Regions from separate parts of the Homo sapiens genome. Here all the other regions are linked to region 3. The links are contacts of gene promoters, found by promoter capture Hi-C in blood cells and fetal thymus (Javierre and others, 2016). All regions are on one chromosome and are shown on one strand. Each heading gives the region's core, a stretch centred on a gene start or on the middle of the fragment in contact. The rest is flanking DNA. Distances are from core to core; before and after follow the strand shown.

Region 1 (2,874 bases), core at 124-2,623, 1.2 Mb before region 3:
CATTCTCTTACCTCAGCCTCCTGAGTAGCTGGGACTACAGGCACCTGCTACCACACCCTGCTAATTTTGTTTTTGTATTTTTAGTAGAGATGGGGTTTCACCGGGTTAGCCAGGATGGTCTCGATCTCCTGACCTTGTGATCTGCCCGCCTTGGCCTCCCAAAGTGCTGGGATTATAGGCATGCGCCATTGCACTCGGCCAGGATATTTTTTCTTTATAATTTACACTTAATTTAAAACAAGCCTTGGCAAATTAGCAAATGTTCTATTGATTTATTATTAGTCATTTGTTTGTTTGTTTTTGAGACAAAATCTTGCTCTGTAGCCCAGGCTGGAGTGCAGTGGCACAATCTCAGCTCACTGTAACCTCTGCCTCCCAGGTTCAAGCGATTCTCCTGCCTCAGTCTCCGAGTAGCTGGGATTACAAGCATGCACCACCACACCTGGCTAATTTTGTATTTTCAGTAGAGATGGGGTTTCACCATGTTGGTCAGGCTAGTCTTGAACTCCTGACCTCAAGCAATCCATCCTCCTCAGCCTCCCAAAGTGCTGGGATTACAAGTGTGAGCCACCATGCCCGGCCTTTATTATTAGTCTTTTTTTTTTTTTTTTTTTTTTGAGATGGGAGTCTTCTGTTGCACAGGCTAGAGTGCAGTGGCGCGATCTTGGCTTACTGCAACCTCTGCCTCCTGGGTTCAAGCAATTCTCCTGCCTAAGCCTCCTGAGTAGCCGGGATTACAGGCACCTGCCACTGCGCCTGGCTAATTTTTGTATTTTTAGTAGAGATGTGGTTTCACTATGTTGGCCAGGCTGGTCTTGAACTCCTGACCTCATGATCCATCGCCTTGGCTTCCCAAAGTGCTGGGATTATTATTAGTCTTTTTTAGCATACCTTAAACTTGCAGTTGCTTCACAATCATTTTTGTTGTTCTTCAAGAAATGATAAAAATAAGGGATCCTAGATTCCACGTTCTGCTTTTTAAAAATAAAATAATGAATAAAGCGCCAAAGCCTAGAAGACAATGGGATTGTAAATAGCAAACATTAGGACCATGTGACCTTGAACCATTTGAGAGGAATAACATGGCTCTTCTCATTAAAATTACAAAATAGGCTGGGTGCAGTCGCTCACGCCTGTAATCCTGGCTCTTTAGGAGGCCAAGGCAGGAGAATCACTTGAGACCAGGAGTTTGAGATCAGCCTGGGCAACATAGCAAGACCTCCTCTTTACAAAAATTAACAATAATAAAATTTAGAAGGCTGGACATGATGGCTCATGCCTGTAATCCCACACTTTGGGAGGCCAAGGTGGGTGGATCACTTGAGCCCAGGAATTCAAGACCAGCCTGGGCAAAATGGTTAAACCCCATCTCTATTTATTTATTTGAGACGCAGTTTTGCTGTTGTCACCCAGGCTGGAGTGCAATGGCATGATCTCGGCTTGCTGCAACCTCCGCCTCCCGGGTTCAAGTGATTCTCCTGCCTCAGCCTCCCGAGTAGCTTGGAGTACAGGCGCCTGTCACCACACTTGGCTAATTTCTGTATTTTTAGTAGAGACAGGATTTTACCATGTTGGCCAGGCTGGTCCTGAACTCCTGACTTCAGGAGATCCACTCGCCTTGGCCTCCCAAAGTGCTGGGATTACAGGCGTGAACCACCCTGCCCGGCTCTCTATTTATGTAAAAAAAAAAAAATTCTTGTTTTACAATTTTTTTTTTGAGACAGCATCTTGCTCTGTCTCCCAAGCTAGAATGCAATGGTGCTGTCTCAGCTTACTGCAACCTCTGCCTCCTGGGTTCAGGAGATTCTCCTGCCTCAGCCTCCTGAGTAGCTGGTACTAAAGGTGCGTGCCACCACACCCAGCTAATTTTTGTACTTTTTTGGTACAGACGGGGTTTCACTATGTTGGCCAGGCTGGTCTTGAACTCCTGACCTTGTGATCCGCCCACCTCAGCCTCCCAAAGTGCTGGGATTACAGGCGTGAGCCACCGTGTCCGGCCAATTTTTTTTTTTTTTTTTGAGACAAGGTCTCAGTTTGTTGTCCAGGCTAGAGTACAGTGGTGTGATCATGGCTCACTGTAACCTCCACCTCCTGGTTCAAGCGATTCTCATGCCTCAGCCTCCTAAGTAGCTGGGATTACAGGCGCCCACCACCACACCTGACTAATTTTTGTATTTTTGTAGAGATGAGGTTTCACCATGTTGGCCAGGCTGGTCTTGAACTCCTGACCTCAAGTGATCTACCTGCCTTGTCCTCCCAAAGTGCTGGGATTACAGGTATGAGCTACTGTACCTGGCCTATTTTAAAATTATTTTTTTAAAAAAGAAGGAAAATACTAGGTGTGGCCCATATAGGGTGAGATGGAGGTTAAGCTCCACTTCCTGGCGGGGAGCATCAACATGCATTCTTCTTCGAGGAAGATTTGTCTCTTCTATTTATTAATCTTTTCCGTCATAAATAAATTATGATCTTCTGGGACGCAGTGTATGGACGCAAGTGTATTTATGTTATATTTTAGGTTATAGTCCAGTACTATCATTATTTTGTTGCTCAGATTATTCCAGCTTCGGCTGTTGGAGTTCTTTCCGGTTGGCCCTGGGGTCCCTGTGACCTGCCCACACGCCCCGATCTTTTTTGTTTTTTAAGCTCTTTTAAACTTTCTGGCATTGCAAGATGCTCCAGGCTTATCTTGTATTTGCCTTGCTCTACTTCTAGCATCAACCATTTCTCCAAGGAGCCCTGGTTCCTTTCATTGGAGAACACTGTTTAGCAAACAAGACTTGATATTGGCTGTGGTCATCACTACTGAGGCCCGCTCAGTGGGCAGAGCTGGGAAAAATGTACATGCATACCAACCCATGCATGCACACAAAT
Region 2 (2,895 bases), core at 64-2,563, 1.5 Mb before region 3:
AGGTAAATATTTTCTCCCATTCCTTAGGTTGCCTTTTCACTCTGTTGATTATGGCCTTTGATGCACAGAAGCTTTTAATTTTGATATAGTCCAATTTATGTTTACTTCTGTGGTCTGTACTCTTGCTATCATATCCAAGAAATCATTGCCAAATCCAATGTCATGAAGCTTTTCCCTTGTTTTCTTCTAAGAGTTAAATGGTTTAAGCTCTTACATTTAGGTCTTTAATCCATTTTGAGTTAATCAGGCACATTCACTTTTAAATTACCCTGTTAAGATGTGATTCTGATAAATCTAAAATTTCTGAGCCTTGTTTAAATAGCATATGAGAATAAATATAAGTAGTATTGTCTGTTTTTTCTTTATGCCATGAAAGCAAGTAATGGTAATTATTTTTATTATTTGCAATATAATATGTACTTAGTTATTTTTTAAATTAGTTGGGGAGTGGAGGAATTACCTTAAAGCAGTCTTGTCCAAATGCCCTCCTAGGAAGCCTTTCTACAGTTTTCTAACACAATTACAATCCCAGTGATGAATGCCGTGATGGTTAATACTGAGTGTCAACTTGATTGGATTGAAGGATACAAAGTTTGATCCTGGGTGTGTTTGTGAGGGTGCTGCCAAAAGAGATTAACATATGAGTCTGGGCTGGGAAATATCCACCCTTATTCTGGTGGACACAATCTAATCAGCTGCCAGCAAATATAAAGCAGGCAGTAAAATGTGAAAAGGAGACACTGGCCTAGCCTCCCAGCCTACATCTTTGTCCTGTGCTGGATGCTTCCTGCCTTCGAACGTCGGACTTCAGGTTCTTCAGTTTTGGAACTCGGACTCGCTCTCCTTGCTCTTCAGCTTGCAGACAGCCTATTGTGGGACCTTGTGATCATGTAAGTTAATACTTAATAAACTCCCCTTTATATACATATATATACACATATTACATATATATACATATTACCTATATACATATTACATATATCTATATATATCCTATTCTGTCCATCTAGAGAACCCTGACTAATACAGATGCTTACTAGTTAGTGAATTCGTGTGTTTCAGTACTGTTATTATAAACACTTCTTGGAAGCTCACTTCTTTAACCGTTCTTCATGGTTTATTTAACTGATTAAAAAGTTTTTTTGTCATGAATGTTTTCAAATACATACAACAGTAAAGAGGACAGTATAATGAAACCCATACACATCACCTAGACCCAAGTTATTAGATGTTGCCATACTTGCTTAACTATACCTTCCTTTTTCTCTGAAGTCATCTAACCACATTGCCAATATCACACCTCACAAAATTAATAGTAACTATCATCAAATGTGAAATTCATAATCTAAATGTCTCAAAAATATCTTTTTATTGCTTGCTCAAATCAGGGTCAACACAAGGTTCACACTTGACATTGAGTTGTGAATTTTTAATTATAAATGTAATACATGCGGGCCAGGCGCAGTGGCTCACACCTGTAATCCCAGCACTTTGGGAGGCCGAGGTGGGCAGATCACGAGGTCAAGAGATCGAGACCATCCTGGCCAGCATGGTGAAAGCCCATCTCTACTAAAAACACAAAAATTAGCTGGGCGTGGTGGCGCATGCCTGTAGTCCCAGCTACTTGGGAGGCTGAGGCAGGAGAAATCACTTGAACTCGGGAGGTGGATGTTGCAGTAAGCCAAGATTGCGCCACTGCACTCCAGCCTGGCAACAGAGTGAGACTCCATCTTGGAAAGAAAAAAAAAAAAAGGAATACATGCTCATTGTAAAAAAAAAAAAAAAAAAGATTCAAAAGGTTCAGAAAGATAAATGAAAAGTGGAATTCCCCCTCTCCCAATCACCCACTTTTCACACTCCACTGTTAAGTTTCTTGCATATCCTACGGTTTTTTAATGCACATATAAGCATATGTCTCTTCACAAATGGGATGATACCATATATACATTCTATAATTTAAGAAAAAATGGCTTTCAGTATATCTAGATCTATCTATAACAGCTGTGAGGTATTCCACTACATGGATGTGGCAAAATTCATTTAACTAAAACCAAACTAATAGGCATGTGTTGGTTGTTTTTACTGGGCCATTAGCAACAGTGCTATAGTAAACATCATTTTGAATAAATCTCTATACAATTGTTCAAGTACGGAGGGATAAATTTCTAGAAATAAAATTTCTGGATGAAAGAAAGCATGGGAATGACTTTTATTTGGATACATATCCATCAAAAGTGGGAGAATGCCATTTTCCCCACAGCCTCACCAATTCTTCACCAATCTGACAGGTGGAAAAAGTGTGCCCCAACTACCTTTTAGAGTTTCTCTGCCCAGCAGTTTCCAGTGACTGTACATGCAAATGGAAAAGTCCCATTAGAAATAGTTGACCCAACACAGTTGCAATCAAGTATTTGAGCTAAGTACACACCAGCAAATTACTAAAAATATCCAGAAAAACTCAAGCTTCATAAAACCTCAAATTTCAAAAAAAGGATGCTAAAATCCACATAGGTCACTTGTGTTGGCCTGGCCTAAACAGACCCCTCAAAGGAACTTTGGAGGGAAATTGTTTCTCTAGGTAAGGAATAACAGCATAAAGGGAAAAAAATTAAAATTGTTAGATACAGGATTCTCTCTAGATCTGCCCTGTCCAATATAGATGCCACTAACCACGTGTGGCTATTAAACACTTAAAATGTGGCTAGTGCAACTGCAGAACTGAATTTCTAATTTTATTTAATTTTAATACATGTAAAAGTGGATACTTCAGTTATTGGAAAACAGTGAGTTATGTTTCAAACAACTTGAGTATGTAAATACATTTTCCACAGTAAGTTTTAAGAAATCTAAATACAGATTAAGTACGTCTGATGAAAACCTAGCATCTGAATTGAC
Region 3 (2,752 bases), core at 238-2,737:
GCAAGTTCTCACTCATAGGTGGCAACTGAACAATGAGAACACTTGGACACAGGGTGGGGAACATCACACTCAGGGGCCTGTCGTTGGGTGGTGGGGAGTGGGGGGGAAGGGATACCATTAGGAGATATACCTAATGTAAATGACGAGTTAGTGAGTGCAGCAAACCAACATGGCACATGTATACATATGTAACAAACCTGTACGTTGTGCACATGTACCCTAGAACTTAAACTATAATAAAAAATAAAATTAAATTAAAAACAGAAAAAAAATAAAAGTATCAAGGTTGTAAAAAAAAAAAAAATTGGACGGGCGCAGTGGCTCAGGCCTGTAATCCCAGCACTTTTGGGAGGCCAAGGCGGGCAGATCACGAGGTCAGGAGATTGAGACCATCCTGGCTAACATGGCGAAACCCCGTCTCTACTAAAAATACAAAAAATTAGCCGGGCGTGGTTGCGGGTGCCTGTAGTCCCCAGCTACTCGGGAGGCTGAAGCAGGAGAATGGCATGAACCCGGGAGGCGGAGCTTGCAGTGAGCCGAGATCTCGCCACTACACTCCAGCCTGGGTGACAGAGCGAGACTCCGTCTCAAAAAAAAAAAAAAAAAAAAAAAATTGAGGACTTGCCACAGATTAGAGAACACCTAGGAGATTTCATAACAAAACACCTAGGAGATTTCACAACAGGATCCTGGATATTGGATCCTGGACCAGATCCAATGAAGGACATTAGTGGGAAAACTGGCAAAATTTGGGTAAGGCCTATAGGTTAAACGATAATAATGTTAATTTCCTGGTTTTGATCATTGAACTATGATTATGTAAGATGATAACAGACGAAACTGGGTGAAAGGTATATAGGAACTCTGCTGTAGTTTTGTACATCTAAAATCAATTCGGGCCGGGCACGTTGGCTCACGCCTGTAATCCCAGCACTTTGGGAGGCCGAGGTGGACGGATCGCTTGAGGTCAGGAGTTAAAGACCAGCCTGGCCAACATGGTGAAATCCCCTCCCTACTAAAAATACAACAATTAGCTGGGTGTGGTGGCGGGCATCTGTAATCCCAGCTACTCGGGAGGCTGAGGCAGGAGAATCGCTTGAACCCGGGAGGCAGAGGCTGCAAGCCGTGGGTATCGCGCCATTGCACTCCAGCCTCCGCGACAGAGCGAGAATCTGTCTCAGAATAAATAAATAAATAAATAAATAAATAATTAGTTCGAATCAAAAGTTAAAAACACTTCAAGTATATGTAAAAAATCGAAGAAAACGTTAAAAACACTTCAAGTATATACAATTCAAATAAGATCATCCTTCCAAATATACTCTGTAAGTGAGGCGAAGGTCGCTGCACGCTTGAGTGCACGTCTTTCCGCATAGGTAGGACGCTCAAGTCTTACCGGGAGGCTCTCCTAGAGAGCAGCGCGAAGCCATGGCTTTTGGGCCCGGGGACGGACCGTAGCGCGTAGCCGGAAGCGGAGGCGTGGAGGCGGGTCTGAGGTTTGGTGACTGCGGGGCAGGCCGGGGGCAGCTGTCTGTCTGGCTCTTTTTGACAGCCCCCAGTGCGAAAGGCTGCCAGCATGTCATCAGTGAGCCCCATCCAGATCCCCAGTCGCCTCCCGCTGCTGCTCACCCACGAGGGCGTCCTGCTGCCCGGCTCCACCATGCGCACCAGCGTGGACTCGGCCCGCAACCTGCAGCTGGTGCGGAGCCGCCTTCTGAAGGGCACGTCGCTGCAAAGCACCATCCTGGGCGTCATCCCCAACACGCCTGACCCCGCCAGCGACGCGCAGGACCTGCCGCCGCTGCACAGGTAGGCCTGGCTGCCCCCGCGGCGGCGGCGGGCGGCGCGGCCTCCTCCGGGGACCTGGGCCCAGGCCACGGCCTGCCTTGAGCGCGAGGCTCAGTTCGGGGCGGCCTTCGCGGCTCGGTTCCGCCTCTCTGGTGCTATCACTTGCAAAATGGGGATGTCAGATACCTGCCCCATGACCATGAATGAGATCGTTCATGAAGTAGTGCCTGACACCTGGTGAAACTACGCAGTTCCCTACCGTTCTGGATAATTTAATTTGAATCCTCTTCCCCCTCTCCGCAATTCCTCGCCCTCGGTCTTCAGCCTCCTAGGCCAGTGCTTTTAACTTTCCAGGCCCTTTCTTTCTCCCCGGTGATCTCTGCCTTCACTTGCCTTCGCTTTTCACCTTTCTCCCCACTGCCCTTTACTCCTATCCGCCTCCCCTTTTCTGTCACCCATCATTTTTGTCCGCTGAGGCATTCTCTGCTCCGTGAGTTTTAACTTTTCCTGTTTCATTCCTAAACTGCACTATTTGTGGGTGCCTTTCTTCTATACTCCCTGCCACCCTTCTCCTTCTCCCCCTAATCCTTCTGTTTCCCTTTGTAAAGGGCCTTTACTGCTCACATTTTCGCTGGTCCCCCTTTCTGGAACTTTCCTAGCTTCTCACCTCTGCTCCTTCACTCATAACATTTCTTAGGCCCCAGGCTTACTACTATATTGCCCAGTACCCTCGCCCTATTGGTGTGACTTTGGGTGAGAGCTTTAACCTCTATTTCTTTTATTCTGCAATTTGGAAACTGACAGCATCCATCTCTTAGGCAAGTTATGAAGAATAAATTGAATAATGTGTATATTCCACTTTGCACCATGCATGATGGATGACTTTGCTGTCCAGTACTGTGTAGTGCATGTGGCTCGTCAAATTGAGATGATAGAATTGCCAGTTGTCCTGGTTTGCTGCGAT
Region 4 (2,700 bases), core at 7-2,506, 1.3 Mb before region 3:
TTGTAAAATATTTTTTGTACAATGGAGGTAGAGTGGATAGGTCAATAATTTAAACCTCACAGGACTTGATTAGTGTCAGCACACCTTTTTTCATTCAGGTTTTCAGGTTCTAGCAGACCTAGAAATAAACTACAAATACTAGATTTAGGCTCAGGGATGGCATTTAATACATTTAAAATTTTTAGTTTTCAGTTTTCCCCATTTGTTCCTTTATAAATGTAAAATTGTGCATCTGATGTCTCTTTCCTCAAATAAGTGTGTTCTAAAAATACCTACTGAGTGAAATGGTAAAAACCAGATGATGGAAAGAGAAACACAACATCCGTTTCATCAATTTTACCTGATTTTTCTCAAACCAGCCTTTTTTTTTTGCTTATTTTTAGTTTGAAATATAAATAACTACAACAATGCATATTTCAGTTGCCTTCATTCTTAAATTCTGAATAAGCATCTTACTTTTCTATAAAACATTACAGAAACTCAAAATAATAATCAATGGCTTCTCCAATTCCAAATATTCAACTTAATGGAGACAGCATCTTTTACATTTAATGAAAACAGAGGATTTGAACACGTTCTATGCAGACATGGTTTTACTATAGATTTGCTGTTACCTTATTTTTTTAAGGGGGTGGTGGTAGGGAGATACAGAAGTCAGGCTAGCCCAGTGCTTGGGAGTTACAGCACTCAAGACACCCTGGCCTCTACAGAGCATCACTGAAGCCACTGAAGACTGTCTCTACCAGCCTTTTGTCTTCCAAGACTATAAGATGGGCATAGGCCTGAGATATAAGCTTCAGGCCAATGGGTTTTTATGGGCTGTTTAAGAACCAGTACTAAGGATACATTCTTTTATGTTTTTCCTTCTAAAAATGTGACACAAAAGAATAATTTACACCAACCGCTTTTTATTATCGAGTTTCAGAAACCTTTCACAAGATGGTAAAAAAAAAAAAAAAGAAAAAAGAAAAAAAAAACAAAACCAAAAACAAAAAAACTTTACAACCACAGCTAATGTAATTTTTTCCATTGTTCCCAGTCAGCTCCAAACCCATTGTGTGCAAAGCCCATTTTTTTCCATGCATCTAAATGATAGATACAGGCTATGAAATTCTTTATTCTATTTGTAGCAGCTTATGCAGGTGCAGCCAAACACAAAGCTTCAGGACAAATTGTACAAACTTTACAATGTGGGATTTAAATTTAAAATATGAAACATAAAAATCTACACAAAACTGATAAAAATCAAGCACAGATACCAGGATTGAAACTTATAATAATCCATGTGTGAAAGGGAGTCTTGTTTCCTTTCAAGTGCTTTATTCTGCTATGGAACAGTCAAAATGAAGATGTAAAGCTTTGTGGTTAGTTTAAATTATACACTCTGTAGATACTATACCAATTTTAAAAGTTATACATAGACCAACAGATGTCCCTCAGTTCATCTGGATTGATAAGACACTCCAGCTGGATTGCTGAGAACAAATCAGGCAAATGTGGAAAGAAAATCCACCTGTGCAATTTGTTTGCAGAGTTTACTGATGGGCACACTGCACTCCAGGTCCATGATGGCTGCTGCTTTCTTCATCAGAGCTATCATTATAGGCTTCACGCCTCTGACCACCTCCTGAGCCTCGAGTGCTATCAAATTCCTGAAGCTCTACCTCCTCTGTTTCTCCAATTATGTTAGGAACTTCCGGTCTAGATGGCAGAAGATCTTCTAGTTCCTTTATTAAAACAAACAAAAACCAGGTTGGTTGTAATATTTTCATCAACTTTCCTTTTGATACATAGAATCCAGTGTCTGTTTAAGAGTTTAAAAAGGGGCTGGGTGTGGTGGTTCATGCTTATAATCCCACCCAGCACTTTGGAAGGCTGAGGCGGGCGGATAATGAGGTCAGGAGATGAGACCAGCCTGGACAACATGGTGAAGCCTTGTCTCTACTAAAAATACAAAAAATTAGCCAGGCATGGTGGTGGGTACCTGTAATCCTAGCTAGTCAGAAGGCTGAGGCAGGAGAATCGCTTGAACCTGGGAGGTGGAAGTTGCAGTAAGCTGAGATTGTGCCACTGCACTCCAGCCTGGGTGACAGAGCAAGACTCCATCTCAAAAAAAAAAAAGTTAAAAAAAGGAATGTGGACTGGACTTTGAACTCTAAGTAAAAGATCACAAACTCATCACTCACAGGCCAAATTCTGCAGACATCTTTTGTGCAACCCATCTATTGCTTTAAGAACCAAAAAAAAGGTCATTATCTGCCAATACTTAAACATTAGAAAGTTTCTACAGGAGACACACCTTCCTGCATCCGGCATGGACACCAGCTTACGATAAAGGGGTAGTGGTCCTGCCCTCTGCAAATGAGGAACCTGTTCTCTCCAGGGAGTGCTACTCCTCATCACCACCCACACCGGGTCTACTTTACTCCTCTACAATTCCCTGCTTGGCCCCATCAACATTTACACCAGCAATACCCCATTTCCTAACAACTAGGAAAGCCTACCAATCACACAAATATACTTTAAAATTGAAAGTAACATGACTATTAAGAAACTTGAAGTCGGCTGGGTGCAGTGGCTCACGACTGCAATCCCAGAACTTCGGGAGGCAGGAGGATTGCTTGAGACCAGTCTGGACAACATAGCAACATCTCTATAAAAAGTTTTAAAAAGCATTAGCCAGGTGTGGTGGTACACACC
Region 5 (2,836 bases), core at 249-2,748, 1.4 Mb before region 3:
GCTATGCAGGTTTGTAGCCTAGGAGCAATAGGCTACACCACATAGCCTAGGTGTATAGTAGGCCATACCATCCAGGCTTGTGTAAGTACACTCTACGATGCTCACACAATGATGAACTCACCTAATGACACCTTTCTCAGAACATTTCCCCATCGTTAAGTGACTCATGACTGTGCATACAACAAAATATTATTTAGCCATAAAAAGGAAATTCTGACACCACAACATGGATGAACCTCAAAGACAGGATGCTAAGTGAAATAATTCAGACACAAAATACCAAATATTGTATGATTCTACTTAGATGAGAGACCTAGCGTCATGAAATTCATAGAAACTGAAAGTAGAACAGTGGTTGTCAGGGCCTAGAGGAAGGAGGGAAGGGGACATTATTGTTTAATGGGTATGGAGTTTCAGTATGGGATGATGAAAATGTTCTGGCAATGGATGCTGGTGATGATTGCACAACAATGCCAACGTACTTAATGACACTAAACTATACATTTTTAAATGGCTAAAATGGTAAATTTTATGTTATGTATATTTTATCACAATCAAAAAGAAAAAATATTCAATCAACTAGGAATACAAGGAAACTTCCTCAACATGTTAAAGGCCATATATGAAAGACCCACAGCCAACATCATATTCAATAGTGAAAGGCTGAAAGCTTTTCCCTTAAGATCAGGAACAAGACAAGGTTGCCTGGTTTCACTTCTATTCCACATAGTATTAGAAGTTCTAGCCAGAGGAAATTAGGCAAGAAAAAGAAATCAGAGGCATCCAAATTAGAAAAGAAGTAGGCTGGGTGCAGTGGCTCACGCCTATAATCCCAACACTTTGGGAGGCCAAGGTGGGCAGGAGTTCAAGAACAGCCTAGCCAACATGGTGAAACTCCGTCTCTACTAAAAATACGAAAATTAGCCAGGTGTGGTGGCACATGCCTGTAATCCCAGCTACTCAGGAGGCTGAGGCAGGATAATCACTTGAACCTGGGAAACAGAGGTTGCAGTGAGCCGAGATCACACCATTGCACTCTAGCCTGGGTGACAGAGCAATGCTCAGTCTCAGGAAAAAAAAAAAAAGTAAAATATTAGGATCATTAAAATACTGAAGATATTAGAAAAATTAGCACATCTGATTGACCAATCCTTGTCTTTAAAAGTTGGCACTTGGCCAGGCACGGTGGCTCACACCTGTAATCCCAGCCCTTTAGGAGGCTGAGGCAGGCGGATCATGAGGTCAAGAGATCAAGACCAGCCTGGCCAACATGGTGAAACCCTGTCTCTACCAAAAATACAAAAATTAGCTGGGAATGGTGGCACGTGCCTGTAGTCCCATCTACTTGGGAGACTGAGGCAGGAGAATCGCTTAAACTTGGGAGACGGAGGTTGCAGTGAGCCAAGATCACGCCCCTGCACCCCAGCCTGGCGACAGAGCGAGATTCCATCTAAAAAAAAAAAAAAAAAAGTTGGCACTAAGCTGGGTACATGCTCATAATTCCAGCTACTCAGGAGGCTGAGGCAGGAGGATCGCTTGAGCCCAGGAGTTTCCGACCAGCCTGCACAATGCAGCGAGACCCCATTTCAGAAAAAAAAAAAAAAAAAGTTGATCTCTCAAAATTGTACTGGAAGTTCTGGCCAGGGCAGTTAGACAAGAAAATGAAATAAGGCATCTAGATTGAAAAGGAAGAAGCAAAACTATCTCTATTTGCAGATGACATTGTCTTATATGTAGAAAATCCTAAGAAGTCAACCTATTATTAGAATGAATAAATGAGTTCAGCAAAGTTGTAGGACACAATATATAAATATCAAATCTATTTCTATACACTTGGACTCAACAATATGATAATGAAATTAATTCCATTTATAATATCATCAAAAAGAATAAAATACTTAGGAGTAAAACAAAAACGTGTAAAACTTATACTCTGAAAACTACAAGACACTGTTGAAAGGAATTAAAGGTCTAAATACATGAAAAGATATCCTGGCTGGGTGTGGTGGCTCACGCCTGTAATCCCAGCACTTTGGGAGGCTAAGGTGGGCAGACTGCTTGAGCCCAGAAGGTTGAGACCAGCCTGGGCAACATAGCTAGACTCTGTCTCTAGTTTTGTTTTGTTTTGTTTTTTTAATGTATTAAAAAAATAAGATATCCCATGTTCCTGGATTGGAGGTCTTAATATTAAAATGGCAATATTCCCCAAATTGATCTGCTGATGAACACAATCCCTATAAAAATCCAGCTGGTTTCTCTGCAGAAATTGACAAAACGATCCTAAAATTCATATAGAAATTACAGGGACTCTGAATTTTTTCCCCAAACAAGCTTGAAAAAGAATAATGAAACAATCTTGAAAAAGAAGAGCAAACCTGAAAGACTCACACTTCCAGATTTTAAACCTAAAAACCTACATAACAAGCAAGTGCAATACTAGCAGAAGGATAGACATACAGATCAGTGGAATAGAGTTGAGTGTCCAGAAACAAACCGCATGCATGGAGGAAGGCAGCCTCTGATCTCCTGGCCAGACTGACTTCACTCACATACCCAATATCTTGGCAGACTGGAATCAACTGGGCTCCTCTCCCTCTCCACATAGACTTAGAGCCTTGCCGTATGGTCTCTCCTTTTACACAGTCAAACCTCTTATGTGGCAGTTTAGGGCTCTAATAACAAGTATTCCAGAGACCAAGGTGGAAGCTGCAAGGCTTTTATGGGCTCAGAAGTCATGGAGAATCGGCCAGGTGTGGTGGCTCACACCTGTAATCCCAGCACTTCGGGAGGCCGGGAGGCTGAGACCAGCCTGGCCAACATGGCAAAACCCCGTCTT
Region 6 (2,700 bases), core at 18-2,517, 1.1 Mb before region 3:
TATGGAAAATCCCAATAAACTGCCACCTCTTCCAGCGATACACTCTGGGTAATTTCCTCAGACACATCTTTTAATAGCCATACTTTTAACTTATAGACCTCCTATTTGGTTATTTTAAAAATGGACGTGGTCATTTTTCTTTCTCATCTCTGTTTCCTTCTTGTAGGATACGTGAAACACTCAAATTCTTGGGGATCTAAGGAACTCCTTCCTGTGTGTTATGTCGGTGAACTCGTACCCATGGTGGGCTGTGAGCATAGGGGTTTTAGAATCTGCGGGCTGTGAGCTGACCTGCAGCAGTGTTTTATCCATGCCAACCCTGCAGCTTTCTTGGTGACTTTTAGATTTATTTTTGCCAGGTGACTCAAAGGTTTAATGCACCCAGGACCATTCTGTCAGTCTTTGGACTTCATGACTCCTGGGTTGAGCAGGGAATGTAAATTCATTTCTCAAACCCTAATAAAGGCAGGGTTTCTAAGTATAAAGCTAGGGGGGACCCCAGCCTCACCTCCAACCCCACCCTGAGACTAAACCCAGAAAAACAAGCTTCTTTGTCATCAGCATGTGGTAGTGAAACATTTTTTCTAATCTATGCTTTCATGTGAGTTGCCTCCCTTTGAGGGCTCCAGCTTCATGTGAGTCTCACAAAGGCCATGTGAACCCCAGGACTCTTCTTTTCTCAGTATGGGAATTAAAAGGAAGCTCCCAGTATGTCTACCCCTGTGCAGTAACAGGTTATAAAAGTCAGCCAGGGGCATCTGTAACATCAATTTCAGTTTATTAATCTACAGTTCTCTCTCTTCATTTCTCATCCATAAGCATTACCCTCTTTTTCTCCTTCCTGGAGCTTACACATATGCTTTTAAAATAATTATTTGTCATATTTTACCCAATGTTTCCATGTGTCTTCTAGCAGATGGGTTTTCAGGTTACCTTATCTATCATATTACCCAATCTTTAAATCTGATTTTCATGATTCTTGAGAGGTATGTTTTCCCACCCTCACTCTCTCCTCTTTTCCCTCTTTTTACATAATACGCATTAAATATAATTTTAACTCTGTTGATATTCCTAGAAGTATACATTAAATGCAAAAGTATCCAATCTCAATCTGTCAGAGTTATTTAAAAACATCCTTCCCTGCAGTTCTTTCCAATAAAAGCACCCCATGAGTAGCAGAGGATGGCAGGGTAAGAACAGACTCGACACATTTGGGTTTTCGCTTTTAGATTGCTACGACCAACTCTGTAACTTTTGAGAACACATTTTCACCTCTTGTAGCCTATTTTCTTCCTCATAAAGCTGTTAATGAATCTATAATCATACTGATCAGTATGCACACTCACCAATTGGGAACTGACAGGTCTTAAGAATCTTAATCTTTTATAATTGAGAATCTTAATATATATGTAATATTCCTGAAGAATTTCAGAAATTTCAGTTTATTTAACTATAATAATGCTGGGATCTTAGTAGATGCCAATAAAGTAAGTGAAATAAAATACATTTTAAAAAGTTGCAGTATCAGTTTATGTAGTCAATAAATATTTACACAAACCAAAATTACACATTTTGCAAATCATGCCTTATCATGATGTTCTTCTCTGAAGCGACTCAATACATAATAATACCTTAGCTTTTGGAGTGGCTTTAATGGTCCAGATGCAATCAACGGCTTGGCCTGGTTTTGTTTTCTCCTCTTGTTCTACCTGACTAGAGCGCACTATTCCATCAGCTCCCGAGAGCTCGAACTGACAATCTGGAAGGAATACATGAAAGGTGTTCAAAGGAACATAAGACTAATCAAAAATGCCAAGAGGAACAAGTGGTAATATACTAAACCTGGAATGGGATTTAAAATACCTCCTAGGTAAGTAAAGTCTGGATCTGTAACAGAAAAAAGAAGAAAGTCATTGGTACTGAGATAGTTACTTTAATCCTCGATGTCTTACATTACATCTAACGTTCCATTTCATAGCAAGGTAAGAGAAGCTTTCATTGGTGAAAACTACATATCATTGGTCATTTAGGAGCTCGCTTACAGGATTGACATTTATTTAATCACGTTTATATTTTTGATTCCATAGTGAATAATTTATTTATGCTACTTGCAAACTCACATCAACTGTCAGAGTTGAACAGGTAAACGGAACATCACATATACAATATACCAGAATATTATTTGGCCTTAAAAAGGAATGAAGTTCCTTTCTGCTGAATCATATTACAATTTGTCTTCTAAACTTCGGCTTAAATGGATGGTGGTAATAGTTGCATAATACTGTGAATGTACTTAACGCCACTGAATTACACACTTAAAAATGGTTAAAGAGAGCTAGGCATGGTGGCTCATGCCTGTAGTGCCAGCTACTTGGGAAGCTGACCTGGGAGGATCTTTTGAGCCCAGGAGGTTGAGGCTGCAGACAGCAGAGACAGCACTATTGCCCTTCAGCCTAGGTGACAAAATGAGTCTTAAAAAAAAAAAGGTTAAAGGGTAAATTTTGTTATGTATATTTTTTACCACAATAAAAATAAAGTTTTAGAAATTATAAACACAGGTATCTTTAAAAAATTATTTTAAAGTTCAGATAGAACCTGTGTATATACCTAACAGCCAGAATAAAAAAAATTGCTGGGTTGTCTAAAATGTCTCAGATTTCTGGAAAATCTATTTATTTTTGTTTATTTTTGAGATGGAGT
Region 7 (2,907 bases), core at 55-2,554, 1.3 Mb before region 3:
TGAGACCAAGTCTCTACAAAAATAAAATAATTAGCCGGGCATGGTGGTGCATACTTGTAGTCCTAGCTACCCGAGACTACTTCCTGAGGCAGGAAGATGGTTTGAGCCCAAGAGTTGAAGTCTGCAGTAAGCTATGATCACACCACTGTACTCTAGCCTGGGTAACAGAGCAAGACCACATCTTTAAACCAAATGAAAAAAGAAACCCAAAAATAAATTAATTGGGCCTACCTAATGAAGACTGGTGCCATGGACATTTGTTTTTGGTGCAGATCTATATTGACATGTTGGCTCCAGTTAGGAACTAGGACCATTTGGACTCCTTGGCATTTACACAAGGTAAAGTCCTCCCCCAAAAGACCTTTGTGGGGCTTTGTCCTTTTATGGTTAAGTTAAGCTGCTGTTTGCCATTTCTAAACTAAAGCTTTAAAGCAAAATGCCCCCAGTCTTTCGGGCCAGCATCATGAAATACATTGGGTGTCAAAACCCCACTCATTCAAGGAAATATGGTATATAAGTGTGAGCGGCTGGGCACGTGAACCACTGCACCTGGCTGCCTGGAGTTTAATTTAATGGCCTTATCTTTGTTACCTACCAGGGCATCTGAATGAGTGTTGGCATATTTATAGATATGCTAAAGCCTCATGTTATTCATTCATCAAACACTGGCTTAGCAGCTGTGCACCAGGCACAGGGTTAAGTGATGGGGACACAGCAGTGACTAAGACCTGATCCCATGATTTATAAGGTTGATAATACCCCATGCTGGTAAGAGAGGGGAAGCCAACACTGATACACTGTTAGCAGTGGTGTGACTTTATACAACTTTTTTTTTTTTTTTTTGAGACAGTTTCACTCTTGTTGGCCAGGCTGGAGTGTGATGGCTCAGTCTTGGCTCACTGCAACCTCCACCTCCCAGGTACTGCAGCCTCCACCTCCCAGGTTCAAGCGGTTCTCCTGCCTCATCCTCCCAAGTAGCTGGGATTACAGGTGCCCACCACCACACCTGGCTAATTTACGGGGTTTCATCATGTTGGCAAGGCTGGTCACGAACTCCTGACCTCAGGTGATCCACACACCTTGGCCTCCCAAAGTGCTGGGATTACAGATGTGAGCCACCATGCCCGGCCAAATTTATACAACTTTTTGAGAGAGCATTTTGGTATCATCAGCATTCAATATACATATGCCTGTTCTAGGCCAGGTGCGGTGGCTCATTGCTGTAATTCCAGCACTTTGGGAGGCCAAGGTGAGTTGATCACCTGAGGTCAGAAGTTTGAGACCAGTCTGGACAACATGGCAAAAGTCTGTCTCTACTAAAAGTACGAAAATTAGCCAGGCGTGGTGGTGGGTGCTTGTAATCTCAGCTACTTGGGAGGCTGAGGCGCGAGAATCACTTGAACCTAGGGGCGGAGGTTGCAGTGAGCTGAGATCATGCCACTGCACTCCAGCCTGGGTGACACAGCAAGACTGTGTCTCAAAAACAAAAACAAACAAACAAACAAAAAAACATATGCCTGTTCTAAAACTATAGTAATCATCAGCCAGGCTTGGTGGGTCATGCCTGTAACCCCAGCACTTTGGAACGCCAAGGCTGGTGAATCCTTTGAGCCCAGGAGTTTGAGACCAGCCTGGGCAACATAGCGAAACCCCCGTCTCTACAAAAGACAGAAAAATTAGCCAGGTGTGGTAGCATGCGCCTGTAGCCCCAGCTACTTGGGAGACTGAGGTGAGAGGATCACTTTAGTCTGGGAGGCAGAGGCTGCAATGAGCTGAGATTGTGCTACAGCACTCCAGCCTGGGCGACAGAGTGAGACCCTGTCTCAAAAATAAAATAAATAAAACCATAGTAATCAAGACAGTCTGGTACTGCTGAAAGGGCAGACAAATAATGGAACAGAATAGAGTCCAGAAATAGACTCCCATGCATTTATCACTTTGGCATAAAATAGACCACATACATGTGTTGCATGCAATCACACACACGCATATATCTTTCACACACTTATGTTGACGAGTATGCCAAAGTAAACACAATGGAGAAGGAAAGTCTCTTCAATAAATGGCGCTAAAACACTTGGATGCTAAAGCATCCATATGGGGAAAAAATAAGCCTCAATGCCTACCTCTATATATGCTATATTTTAGATGGATTGCAGACCTAAAATTTAAGAGCTAAAATTGTAAAGCTTCTAGAGGAAAACCTAAGAGAATATCTTTGCAACTTTGAGATCCACAAATATTTCTTTCTTTTTTTTTTTTTTGAGACAGAATCACTCTGTCGCCCAGGCTGGAATGCAGTGGCACCATCTCAGCTCACTGCAACTTCTGCTGCCTGGGTTCAAGTGATTCTTCTGTTTCAGCCTCCCAAGTAGCTGGGATTACAGGTGTGAGCCACCATGTCTGGTTAATTTTTATATTTTTAGTAGAGATGGGGTTTCACCATGTTGGCCAGGCTGGTCTTGAACTCCTGACCTCGAGAGACCCACCTGCCTTGGCCTCCCAAAGTGCTGGGATTATAGGCGTGAGCCACCATGCCCAGCCAGAGACATGGAAATATTTTTTAGGATAAAAAGGCACAAATTGGCTGGGCTCGGTGGCTCACGCCTGTCATACTAGCACTTTGGGAGGCCAAGGCGGGTGGATCGCGAGGTCAGGAGTTTGAGACCAGCCTGGCCGATATGATGAAACCCTGTTTCTACTAAAAATGCAAAAATTAGCCAGGCGTGGTAGCGCGCACCTGTAATCTCAGCTACTTGGAAGGCTGAGGAAGGAGAATTGCTTGAACCTGGGAGGTGGAGGTTGCAGTGTGCTGAGATTCTGCCACTGCACTCCAGCCTGGGTGACAGAGTGAGACTCTGTCTCAAAAAAAAAAAAAAGGCACAAATCATAAATGAAAACATCAAT

Evidence for each region. Contacts are between HindIII fragments. The CHiCAGO score rates a contact against its expected background, and 5 or more counts as called.
Region 1: a fragment that was not itself captured here is called in contact with the fragment with the promoter of LONP2 in region 3 in 3 of 17 cell types (naive CD8 T cells, total B cells and total CD4 T cells); the score reaches 6.2 in naive CD8 T cells.
Region 2: a contact is called between a fragment that was not itself captured here and the fragment with the promoter of LONP2 in region 3, in 1 of 17 cell types (total CD4 T cells). The highest score is 5.1, in total CD4 T cells.
Region 4: a contact is called between a fragment that was not itself captured here and the fragment with the promoter of LONP2 in region 3, in 4 of 17 cell types (non-activated CD4 T cells, naive CD8 T cells, total CD4 T cells and 1 more). The highest score is 6.9, in non-activated CD4 T cells.
Region 5: a contact is called between a fragment that was not itself captured here and the fragment with the promoter of LONP2 in region 3, in 1 of 17 cell types (M2 macrophages). The highest score is 5.2, in M2 macrophages.
Region 6: a contact is called between a fragment that was not itself captured here and the fragment with the promoter of LONP2 in region 3, in 2 of 17 cell types (monocytes and total B cells). The highest score is 6.0, in monocytes.
Region 7: a contact is called between a fragment that was not itself captured here and the fragment with the promoter of LONP2 in region 3, in 1 of 17 cell types (total B cells). The highest score is 5.5, in total B cells.

What each region holds. Positions count from the first base shown.
Region 1 is chr16:47,020,075-47,022,948 of GRCh38, forward strand. No RefSeq gene overlaps it. Among named protein-coding and RNA genes, the nearest start is that of DNAJA2-DT, 48 kb to the left of the region's middle. The HindIII fragment of the contact is 4,553 bases long and covers 1-2,874 here.
Region 2 is chr16:46,701,187-46,704,081 of GRCh38, forward strand. It overlaps MYLK3 (myosin light chain kinase 3), which reads right to left. Exons shown (of 13, transcript NM_182493.3): 13 at 1,096-2,895. Among named protein-coding and RNA genes, the nearest start is that of ORC6, 13 kb to the left of the region's middle. The HindIII fragment of the contact is 2,295 bases long and covers 167-2,461 here.
Region 3 is chr16:48,242,813-48,245,564 of GRCh38, forward strand. LONP2 (lon peptidase 2, peroxisomal) reads left to right here and starts at 1,488. Exons shown (of 15, transcript NM_031490.5): 1 at 1,488-1,809. The coding sequence starts at 1,577. The region is part of intron 1 of ABCC11 (ATP binding cassette subfamily C member 11); the gene reads right to left. RefSeq lists an enhancer at 1,424-1,513. The HindIII fragment of the contact is 24,694 bases long and covers 1-2,752 here.
Region 4 is chr16:46,955,494-46,958,193 of GRCh38, forward strand. DNAJA2 (DnaJ heat shock protein family (Hsp40) member A2) reads right to left here. Exons shown (of 9, transcript NM_005880.4): 9 at 1-1,727. The coding sequence ends at 1,536. Among named protein-coding and RNA genes, the nearest start is that of DNAJA2, 17 kb to the right of the region's middle. The HindIII fragment of the contact is 197 bases long and covers 1,159-1,355 here.
Region 5 is chr16:46,836,619-46,839,454 of GRCh38, forward strand. No RefSeq gene overlaps it. Among named protein-coding and RNA genes, the nearest start is that of C16orf87, 6.9 kb to the left of the region's middle. The HindIII fragment of the contact is 1,661 bases long and covers 669-2,329 here.
Region 6 is chr16:47,121,026-47,123,725 of GRCh38, forward strand. It overlaps NETO2 (neuropilin and tolloid like 2), which reads right to left. Exons shown (of 9, transcript NM_018092.5): 5 at 1,843-1,887; 6 at 1,632-1,759. Among named protein-coding and RNA genes, the nearest start is that of NETO2, 22 kb to the right of the region's middle. The HindIII fragment of the contact is 1,446 bases long and covers 545-1,990 here.
Region 7 is chr16:46,938,497-46,941,403 of GRCh38, forward strand. No RefSeq gene overlaps it. Among named protein-coding and RNA genes, the nearest start is that of DNAJA2, 34 kb to the right of the region's middle. The HindIII fragment of the contact is 1,765 bases long and covers 423-2,187 here.